Linked DNA regions of Homo sapiens: region 2 is linked to region 1. Evidence: promoter capture Hi-C in human tissues and cell types (Jung and others, 2019). All regions are on one chromosome and are shown on one strand. Each heading gives the region's core, a stretch centred on a gene start or on the middle of the fragment in contact. The rest is flanking DNA. Distances are from core to core; before and after follow the strand shown. Region 1 holds the start of PAQR3 (progestin and adipoQ receptor family member 3). Region 2 overlaps FRAS1 (Fraser extracellular matrix complex subunit 1).

Region 1 (5,534 bases), core at 887-3,386:
GGCGGCAGAGGTTCTCCCGTTCAGGCCACTGTCACTGGACCTCTCTGTAAATTACCCTAGTAAAACCCTATGTCTTGTTTACTGGCTTTGGGTCTCTTCTTCCGTCTTTCGAACCTGGTGCCATCCTTATTGAAGTTAACAGGAGTCCAGCACCACATCTTCGTATTCTGTTCAGTTTTAAAATCAAATAATCATCTTCATTATCATCATCTGTTCAGCTTCACAACCACTGGTGATGACAACAATCACCATTTATTGACGGCTTATTAGGTTCCAGGCCATGTATAGCATTTCACACACAGAATCTTACTGAATCTTTTTTTACCTCTGGAAGCAGATACTGTGATTACCCTCATTTTTATATGTGGGTATAATGAGGCTCAGTGAGGTTACATTTTGCTCCAGGTCTCAGAGCTGTTAAGTGGCAGATTTGGATACTAAAGTCTTTGACTCAATAGCTCAAGAGCTAATGCTCTATACTTAATTTTCCACTCCATGAGATTTGGACCCTAACATCAGAACGCAGAAGACCACTGCTAGTTGAGTAGAAAATATTTAAGGCAATTCACTGCTTGCCCTATTCTTGTGGAACTCCAGATCCACAGCAGAACTCAGCTGTGTAATTTACTCATGCACAGGAGGCACTGGGGAGGAAAACGGTAATTACGCTTCAAGTTGTGAATCCTAAGGGCCATCCATTCAAGCCAAGTAGGGATGGGCAGTGATGTCACCTTGTGACCATGAGTCACAGAAACACTTTCATGGCAGGACAAAAGGAAAGAAGGGCAGGAAAAGACAATGCTGGAAAAATCAAGAATCAGACATGTGGTTGCCGCTTGAGCAATTCAACAGCCCACATTCTGGCACTAGGGTTTGCCACTACAGCGACCTGGAGCTAACCAACACCTGTATCTTAATTCTCCTGAAGCAGAGGTCCTGTATTTTAGTACAGGTAGTAAGTTTGGACAGTTACTCCAAGAACTAGAATAGTTATTTTTCAGTTTTGTTTTTTTAAAACACGGATTTTCAAGGGACTGTGGTTTTAAAGGTTTAAAATGATAAAGAAATTTCTTTCTTAGAGATGCTTCTGTGGTGCTCTAGTGGAGACTGGGTGCCCGTTATGAGCTCTCTTTACCACAGTACTTTTCCTACACAGCATTTTTTCCACAATGGTTATTATGTAATTGTGTAATTATCTATTTAATGTCTGTTACCCAGGCTACACCTTAGTAGCTTCATGAAAACAAGGGCCATGTTTGCTTTTTTTTCTGCATGGGCTCCATAAGTATTTGCCAAATGAATAAATCTCGGGTGTATATGTTAACTTGTTTCCTATTATACAGGCACTTATCTGGCCCAAAGCTACTGAATTCCCACAGTGTTGCTCTAAAAAGAAAGGTATACACCGGGCAAATATGGCTCAGCCCCATTTCAATATATATCTCAATGAGCCGAACAAACCGAATAAAGGATGTAAAAGCCCTTTGTAAAGAGCAAAGCGTCATAGGAGAGCTGTAATTATGATCACTGTTACTATCATGATTATTCCGTGGACCAAGTACCCCGGCCAGGTAAGGGGAGATAACGGGGGAGGAGAGGCGGCAAAAAGGGATGAAAAGGATGGGGCGGCGAGGAAATGATGGGCAAGCAGAAAGGCGGGGAAAGCAGAAGGGGGACCAGACAAAAAGGGTGTAGGTGAGAGAAGGGGGCACTCCAGGCGGAGGCAGCCAGACCGTACCTTTTGATACACAGCCTGGACGGCAGGTAGGCCCGGTAGCCGTCGGTGATGTACGGGTTGTCCTTGAGGGACCCGGGGATCTGCTCGTAGGTGTACAGGCGGATGCCACGGGGCACCAGGACCGGCCAGTACTGGTAGCTGCCCAGCTCGATGTAATGCGCGCTCTTCAGCAGCTTCTGATGCATCGTTCCCGGCCGCCGCCGCTCCCCGGCTCGGGAGCTCCCCCAGGTCCCGCCTCCCCGGGGAGGGGGCTTCGCCGCTGGCGCCCCCGCCCCGGAGCCCGCGGACGCTGCGCGAGGTCCTACCGCGCTGCCGCTGCTGCCCAGGGCCCGGCTCTGCGCTCACACCGGCCACTGCCGCCAGCGCCGCGGCGGACCCGGCAGCGTCGCAGCCTCCTCTGACGTCAGCGCGCCGCGGCGGCCCCGCCCCTCAGCCCTAGCTGGGAGGGGCAGGGTGCTGGGGCGCGCCCGGGTGTGCTCGAGCGTGCGCTGGCGGCGGCCCGGGCTCCCGGGCGTCTCTCACGCTGTGTTTTGGCGGCGCCTGGGGTCTTCGTTTGCATATGAGAAGAGCCGAAAGCACAGAGCTACAGGCGAATACAAGTGGATTTTTTTTCTTTTTCTGTTTTTTTATTAGAAGTAATAGTTGCTGCATTTTGAAAAATCAAGAGGAAAAGAGTTAACAGGAAGAAAAGTTCGAGGTAATTACCGTTTAGTTTATGCTTGGAATTACACACACTTAGTGTCAGAAGGGACTTTGAGGATTTCTAAGCTGAAGTCAGCTCTTAGCACGATAATTGGAAAGAGAGGAAACCTGATGCACGTGGAACATACACCAGCATCGAGCACATCCTGAGCCATAAAGGAAAGCCCCCGTGCATTCAAAACTCCGACCCCTTTCAGCGTTATGTTCTCTGATCACAGTAGAATTAAACTAGAGTAACAAGAAAACTAAAAGTCTCCACGTCTGGAATAGGAGCAATACACCAAATATTTCAAGGGCTGATGAAGAAATCACAATGGAAATGAGAATATCTACTTAACTGAATAATATAGAACATATTAAAAAATCCTGTGGAGTGCGGCTATAGTAGCGTTTACAGGAAGTGTTGCAGCTTTGTTTCTGGCTATTTACTGTAATGCAAGTGTTTACTTATAATGGCAACAGGGCAAAACATCAGTTTGAGTACCGTATGTGTATAATAGAACGCTTAGTCCATTGTTTGGCATTGTAAGGGCAAGAAAAATATCTTGTCCTCACTTATCACAAGGTTCACAGCTGACATTCCTATGAAAAAAATTAAGAGAAGCCAGGCGCAGGTGGCTCATGCCTGTAATCCCAACATTTTGGAAGGCCGAGGCAGGCGGATTGCTTATGCCCAGGAGTTGGAGACCAGCCTGGGTAACATAGTGAGACGCTGTCGCTACAAAAAAAACCAACCAAACAAACAAAAAACAAAAATTAGTCGGGTGTGGTGATGGGCGCCTGTAGTCCCAAACTATTCTGGGCTGAAGTGAGAGGGTTGCTTGAGCCTGGGAGGTCGAGGCTGCAGTGAGCCATGTTTGTGCCACTGCACTCCAGTCTGGGTGACAAAGCGAGACTTTGTCTCAAAAAATAAATAATAAAAATTAACAAGAAAAGGGATAATAAATTCATTTAACACAGTTTTATGTGACAGAGGAGTCTTCAGAAATGAAGACACAAAGACCCAGGAAAAAATGGGCTTTTTATGCTAAGTCTGATGAAAGGAGTGGATAGTTGTGGAGAAACATGATTGAAAGGGGGCATCATCTAATGATAATAAACTGAGGGGGGATCCTAGCTAGCAAGGCCAGTTCATTCAAATTCTTGGCCTCAGAGTATGGGGCAGGAACTCTCTAGAATGAGGGTTTTATGACCTAGTTTCAGGTGAGGTAAGTCAGAACTCCTTTGTGACCACGGAAAGGCAGGGACAGTCAGAAAGTAACCTTACTAGATTTTTTGTTGTTGTTGTTGTTGGGGGAAGACAGAGTCTCACTCTGAAGCCCAGGCTGGAGTGCAGTGGCACAATCTCGGGTCACGCAATCTCCACCTCCCGGGTACAAGCAATTCTCCTGCCTCATCCTCCCGAGTAGCTGGGACTACAGGCACCCACCACCATGCCCGGCTAATTTTTGTACTTTTCGTAGAGATGGGGTTTCACCATGTTGGACAGGCTGCCCTTGAACTCCTGACCTCAAACAATATGCCTGCCTCAGCCTCCCAAAGTGCTGAGATTACAGGCGTGAGCCACCACGCCCGGCCCCTTACTAGGTTTTATGGCTTCCTTTAGGGAGAGAAATTCTAGGTTGTAAGACCCACTTGGGAAGAACAGGAAAAGGAAGAAAGGAGGACGGAAAGAAGTTCAGAGAGACCTTAGTTTTGAGGCCTTCCCAGTCTCCTTTAAAGTACTCAGCATGTCAAAGCACCACACTTTGGGGTGGGTGTGGTGTTCTGAACCCTGACAACATACAATAATCACTCATAATACCTATTATTATTATGCTAGTAATATTGGTTGATTTTTGAGAAGCAGTATGGCTTAGTGATTAAGATATTGGACTTTGAAGCCATTTACTTAAGTTCGAATTTGTGTTCAATCATTTACTAACTATTAATACATGTCCTAGTGCAGGTAACTTAACCTCTCTGAGCCTCAGTTTTCTTATTGGTAGAATAAGACTAATAACAGTACTTTGTGTTGTTGAGGATTAAATGACTAAATCCATGTAACAGTCTTAGAAAAGTACCAGACATACTGTTAGCACTCAACAAATGTAAGCTATATAGAGAGTTCAAGGAAAAATAATCAATAAAACTGGAAAGGTAAATTGAAATATATCCTAAGTGGACTTAAATGTCCTATGAAGTAAGTGAGACTTATTTTTTAAGTCATGGAGCTAAAAATAATGTTTGAGAACTTACTACATGCTCAGTACATTGTCTCTGCTGAAGGTTACTGTGTATAGAAATTCTCATTTCCTAGTGTAGGACGTTCATGCCTGAGAATGCCTACCTGCCACTCCTACAGACCTCTTATAGGAGGTTCCTTCTGCACGTATTTCTTGCTGGTACCATATGATACTACCTTGAGTCTATTGCTGAACCAAAAGTAGATCAGTATTCCATGACATTCGATGGCACAAATGTCCATTCAAGAACAATGGTAATTAGTTTGATCAATCAATTACTTCCTTAGGAATTTGACCTGGAGATGTGGGAAGAGAATCCGTAGCCTGTTATTTGAAACAAAGTAGAAAGATGCCCAGAGATTATCAGACACAGAGAAAGTAGCTGAGTTATGATAATGATGGGACACTAGAGTAAAGAACTAAAAATGGCACTTTGGGAGGCCGAGGCAGGCGGATCACGAGGTCAGGAGATTGAGACCATCCTGGGTAACACCGTGAAACCCTGTCTCTACTAAAAATACAAAAAATTAGCCGGGTGTGGTAGCGGGTGCCTGTAGTCCCAGCTACATGGAAGGCTGAGGCAGGAGAATAGCATGTATCCGAGAGGTGGAGCTGGCAGTGAGCCGAGATTGCGCCACTGCACTCCAGCCTGGGTGACAGAGCGAGACTCCGTCTCAAAAAAAAAAAAAAAAAACCCTAAAAATGGGAACTGCTTTGGTCTTCAGCAGTGTACCCATGAAACCTTTTGCAAAATGACTTCTGGATTTATTTCAACAATTTATGGCCTTTTTCAGTTCTCCCTAGTCCATTTACATGACTTAACTTTCCAGTTATGCACTCTAACAACAAGCACTAAAAAAACACTTATA
Region 2 (5,534 bases), core at 1,635-4,134, 870 kb before region 1:
CATACTGCAGTGAGTTTATCATGGCTATCTAAACTTCCAAAAATAGGTTTTGATATGGGTACTCAGATACTTCTTAAGGTGCTTGATTTCCTTTGGAGCTTTGAAAAGAAATTGACTTTGGAAGGTAATGCTGTGGAGAGCAATAAAATTATTTGAGGATAGTCTTATTTTAAAGATTAAATTTTGTTTGTGTTTTTTCTAAAAGTTAAGTTTTGTTTAATCTAAAGTTTAAATTTTGTTAAATTGTACCTAAGTGATGATGATCTTTATTCTAAATTTTCTAAACACCAGAAATAATTAAATATGTCCATATAAGTAATTTAGAAAGTGAATTGTGTTCATATGTATTTATTTGAGATATATAGAATTATTTTAGTACACACATCACACACATACATATGTACACATATATATATTTCCTTTCTTATAACATACCATAGACTGAACTACTAAGTCTTGGAACAAGATTTCTTAAGGAAAAAGTAGTCAATTAAGAAGAATTTTCCTTCAAGGTTTTATCTCAAGTTATTCTTATTAGAACTTAAAGAATAATAATAAAAATAAATAAATAAATAAAATAAAAAAATAGGGAGTGTCTATAAAATCATTCATTTATAGACACTCCCTATTCCTTTCTTTCATATGTATAGAAATAAATTCCTTTTTTCATATGTACAGAAATTTTAATAAATATTAATGCCATGGCTAGAAACTATTTTAAAGTAAAATAATAAGTTTGTGTAAAATATAAACTCAAAAATGACATATTTATATTAATTATCCTATGTCTGCAGAGGAAGAAATACAAACCATTAAAAGTTGGAAATGTCATTAGGAGAAAGGCACAAGGGTGTCATAAATTTATAATTTTTGCTTATACATATGCCTTGTACTTAGCTAATGTGATGCCTTCATATTCTGGGTGAATTATATTAAAACACCAATAAAATTGTTGTATACCAAGAAAAAAAAAAAGAATATCAGGGACATAAAAATTATTTCAATAAATTTGCCCACAGAGATCTTTGATTCAAACCTAAGTGTAAATAGTCATCTCAGTTTTTTTAAAGATTGTTCTTAATTCCATTACTGGAGGAGAAGGTAGACCAATTCTTTCCTGAGAAGTTAATATTATTGGGACTTCATAAATGATCCATTAGAGGTAAGCACTGTGGTAAAATAATGTCCTTCTCTCTTTAGAAACCAACTGTGTGGAGCATTGTTAAGATATGCTTCACCTTGGTGTGTATATACTGTTCAAATGTGTTTTGCAGACTCAGTTTCTGAGAGAGTAGGTGACAGCACACTGCCCATCTCTTTCTAAGTTAAATCAAGACCTGTTGTGCAGCTCAAAAATTGGTTGGGAATGTGTCTATATTTTTTTTAAGTTAAGATTTCAGTTTTATAGTGTATATATATATATATATATATATATACATACACACACACACACTAAATACTACATATGCTATTTATACTATATATTATATATATACTATATATAGTATATAGTGGGTATATATGTATATATATGTGTATATATGTGTATATACTATATATGTACTATATATGGTATATAGTATATAGTGGGTATACATGTGTATATATATGTATATACTATATATGTAATAGTATATATGTAATGGTATATATAGTGTATATATTCTCTCTATATGTAGTACACACACACATATATATAATGTAGTGGGGTAAATACAACATTTCAACATCCTTAGAAAGGAAATACACAAGAATAAATTCACAAATGGAGGATGTAGGCACAAAATGCTAGGAGCTCAGAGGAGCATAATCTGGTGGGCAGAAGTTTCACAAAGGAGATGGGATCAAGTTCAAAGAGCTTGACTAGACAAAGTACATCTCCTGTAGAAAATGAAAATGAGCAAAGGCATTGAGACATGTAAATATATTACAGGATTCTAAGTTGGCCTCTTGGGTTGGACTGGAGGCTTAGTGTAAGCAAACAGTGGCAGGGAAGCCTGGATAAGTAAATGGGACTGGATTATGGAGGCTTTGCTGACTTATCACCAAGAAAAATATTTACTGTATTTATAGCATGTCGTTATAAACACATTTATCTTAAAATTCAAGTCATAAGTTTTAATGATGCTTTTCCTCATGTGTGTCCAAGGAATGTTGTTTTGGTGTATGGGGTTATTTCCCCAGGGGAAGAATGCTGAAGCTTTTAAGATTTTGGAAGAAGCTCATTTTCCTGGTTATGATGCATATAGATGCAGTTTTAGCAGCAAGCTTGCTGGGGCAGTGCCTATTGGTTTATTATGCATCCCTTTTAATTCTTGTTTTGTTTTTCCCCACAGGTGCTTGTGTCTATCAGGATTCCTTGTTGGCGGTAGGTCATTCTTTACATACTTGGTTTCTGTCATTTGAATGTAAAATGCTTGATTGAAGTTCCTGAGTGAGTGAGTTGACCCTATCATTGTAGAATATGTTTATTTTTCTTCAACGTTTGACAATTAGCCCTCATTCGGGCACAATGATGCTCAATTATTTAATACCTTTTCCAGAGTGAATTAGTTCTATTCAGATACTCAGGTATTGGAAGAGAAATTCAAACACTCAACACACGATTTACATTCTGTGGCTGTTCTTTGTGTTCTTTTAATCAGAGAGAAAATTAGATCCCATCCTTTTGTCAGATACAAACTGAAACACAATTTTTTAACTTCTGGTTGCATTTGCTTCCCACTTTGAACCCTTCTCCAAAAAAAGTATGATTATTAAATTAAGTAGAATAGGAAGGATTTCTGTTGTTACTTTGAATTATAAACTTAAGTTTTGGTGAACAGCAAAGAAATTAACATTTATTTCTGAACTCTTGCCATATAGGGTAAAATTGATTTTGAATTTAATGTCAGAATGACTTGGGGGAAAGGCTGATGTAAGTCTCATGCATTTCTTTTCATTACTAATGCACTATGGTGCATAACAGTGTGTTAAAGCCTTATTGAAAAGACTGTCTACACTCCATCAACTCTAATAAATGGTGTGACAAATCATTCTTCACCATGTTTTTATTTTGGTTTAATAAATGCTATAATAAAACTGAACTGAGATGGTTGGAAAGAATTTGCTCATTTACATCACAACCTGCTATTGACATGTGTGATATTGATAAGTCATCCTGGATTATCCTTGTGGTATTGAAATAGCTGAGGAATATCTGAAGTATCTTAGAGTCTAGATAACTGTAGATATTCACCATAATATCCTTGAATCTGCACTTTATATACTGTAGTTACTGCTGGAGAAGTTTATTTTTTAAATATTTTTCTATCAAAAATTAGGAAAAAGCCATTTTTATTGTATTTGTCATTCCATATCCTGCCCTGTTTATTCTTTAATATATTTTAGGAATCATTTGCTCTAAAATATATTATCACTTTTGGGGAGCTACAGTAGATATTTAGACAAGTCAGTTATCCGTGCTAATAAAAGAGAATTATTTATTGTGTAGAGTACTTCATAACTTTTCCATATATTTTCATAAGTATTCATATGTCTGATACTTATAATAGACCAATGAAATAGGCAGGCCATGTATCATTCCATACTCTTTCCCCTTTTAATGGAAAAGATGAGAGAGAGAGATGAAGAGATTTGCTAGAGGTAATTCACCATTAGTGGTGGACCAGAACAAGACATCCTGTCTTCTTCTGTTGTTCTGCCTATATGTGAAAAAAAGTGGCTAGACCATCTTCTATATTTAACTTTGCTATGTGTTATTGTACATTTGAATATGAAAGGATCAAGTAATTGGAGAGGTCAGTTTGATCAAGTTAAAAGGAGAAACAGCCCAGCCAACTTGAATTTATTGGATGACCTTGCTTCCCTCTGTACCATGCCCTAGCTGATCCCAGGGCTCATGGCTGCTCAAGATTAGTGGGCTGCACCCTCCCACACCAGCACGCTCCTCATTCTTCCAGGTGACTTCTTTGCTTACCAAGGCTCTGCTACATTTGTTTCTTTTTCTTTTTTTTTCTTTCTTTTATTATTATTATTATTATTATTATTATTATTATTATTATTTGTAAGATAGGGTCTCGCTCTGTCACCCAGGCTGGAGTGCAGGGATCTTGGCTCACTGCAACCTCTGCCTCTAGGGTTCAAGTGATTCTCCTGCTTCAGCCTCCCAAGTAGATGGGACTACAGCTGCACACCACCACACCCAGCCAATTTTTTTTTTTTTTTGTATTTTTAGTAGAGACGGGGTTTTGGCATGTTGGCCAGGCTGGTCTTGAATTCCTGATCTCAAAGTGCTGGGATTACAGGCATAAGCCACTGAGCCTGGCCTGCTACATTTGTTTCTGAACCTCTTCAAGCCTGAGATACTTGTTATTGTAGTTATGCAATTCAGTCTGAGAGACAATATATTTATTACAATAATAAAATTATTAAACAAATATTTATTGAATGACAATTAGAGACCTGCTATTCTATGCACTGGAATGCATCTGTGAACAAACAGATGAAAATGCCTGCCTTCATAGAGCTTGAATTCTAATAAGTAAAATATATAGAATGTCAGATAGGTGGGCTATGGGGAAAAATATTGTGGAGGTGGAACGGATAGAAAAGGCTCAATAGGGGATGAAGGTGGCTACTTTAGATAGGGTGATAGGGAAGGCTTCACTGAGAAGGTGACATTTGATCAAAGACATACTGAAAGAGGTAATTATAAGGAGCTAGCCTGGTGGATACCCAAGGGGAGAGAATTCCAGAGATAGGGAGCAGAAATGTAAAGTCTGAAGCAAGAGCTCCTATGGGCATTTGAGGCAGTGCATGGAGGATGGCAAGAGATAGGTCAGGGAGGATGGCAGGGGTCAGAGCATGGTGAGCCTTGTGCAGACTTTAGCTTGTCCTTTCAGGAAGGTGGATGAGCCATTGGAGGTGCCAGAGAGGAGGAATGGCAACACTGGACTTATCATCTAATTAAACTGCTGAAATGAGAGTGTGCTTGTTTCCAGGGAAACTATATTAAATACTTTAAAAAGACTCCATAGGGGTGAGTCACTAAAAAATTTCTGTCAAATTAAGTGTAGGAAAAACAGCTGTACAAGATTGAGAAAATATTTCAAAATCTAGAGAGATTCTGCATTCGGGTTTATTTGTAACCACTTTAAGTTCTCTTTCCATTTTAAGGACAATGAAACTGGAAATGGTAGATGATGCATTGTGGACTTGGTTTATTATCTACATCATTCACTGCTGCTCTCTCTCCACATGCCCTAGCGTTAAAGAAAAGCATTGTGTCTACATCAGTGAAATTGGAGAGTGAATGTATGTTCATGTATTTTGAATTGAAGGGTTCAAGAACATTACTATATGATTCTAGGATTCTCTGATTATACAACTTTTTGGGTGACAAAGGCTTCTAGTGTAAGAGGCGTCATTTTCAAGAGCTGGCTCTGAGAATAGTGATTGGTGTCCCTGTTCCAAACTTTGTAATTTTACCCACATGCTCACTGTTTTAGAGGTAGAAGTGACTTGAGAAATCT

The links. Contacts are between HindIII fragments. The study calls those that stand out against the background at their distance.
Region 2: a fragment that was not itself captured here is called in contact with the fragment with the promoter of PAQR3 in region 1 in 1 of the 25 tissues and cell types used here (stomach).

Annotation. Positions count from the first base shown.
Region 1 is chr4:78,937,302-78,942,835 of GRCh38, forward strand. It overlaps PAQR3 (progestin and adipoQ receptor family member 3), which reads right to left and starts at 2,137. Exons shown (of 6, transcript NM_001040202.2): 1 at 1,739-2,137. The coding sequence starts at 1,923. RefSeq lists silencers at 1,667-1,736, 1,827-2,316. The HindIII fragment of the contact is 22,278 bases long and covers 1-5,534 here.
Region 2 is chr4:78,063,649-78,069,182 of GRCh38, forward strand. It overlaps FRAS1 (Fraser extracellular matrix complex subunit 1), which reads left to right. Exons shown (of 74, transcript NM_025074.7): 2 at 2,337-2,368. LOC107986293 (a long non-coding RNA gene) reads left to right here and starts at 4,258. Exons shown (of 2, transcript XR_001741746.1): 1 at 4,258-5,041. The HindIII fragment of the contact is 3,741 bases long and covers 1,015-4,755 here.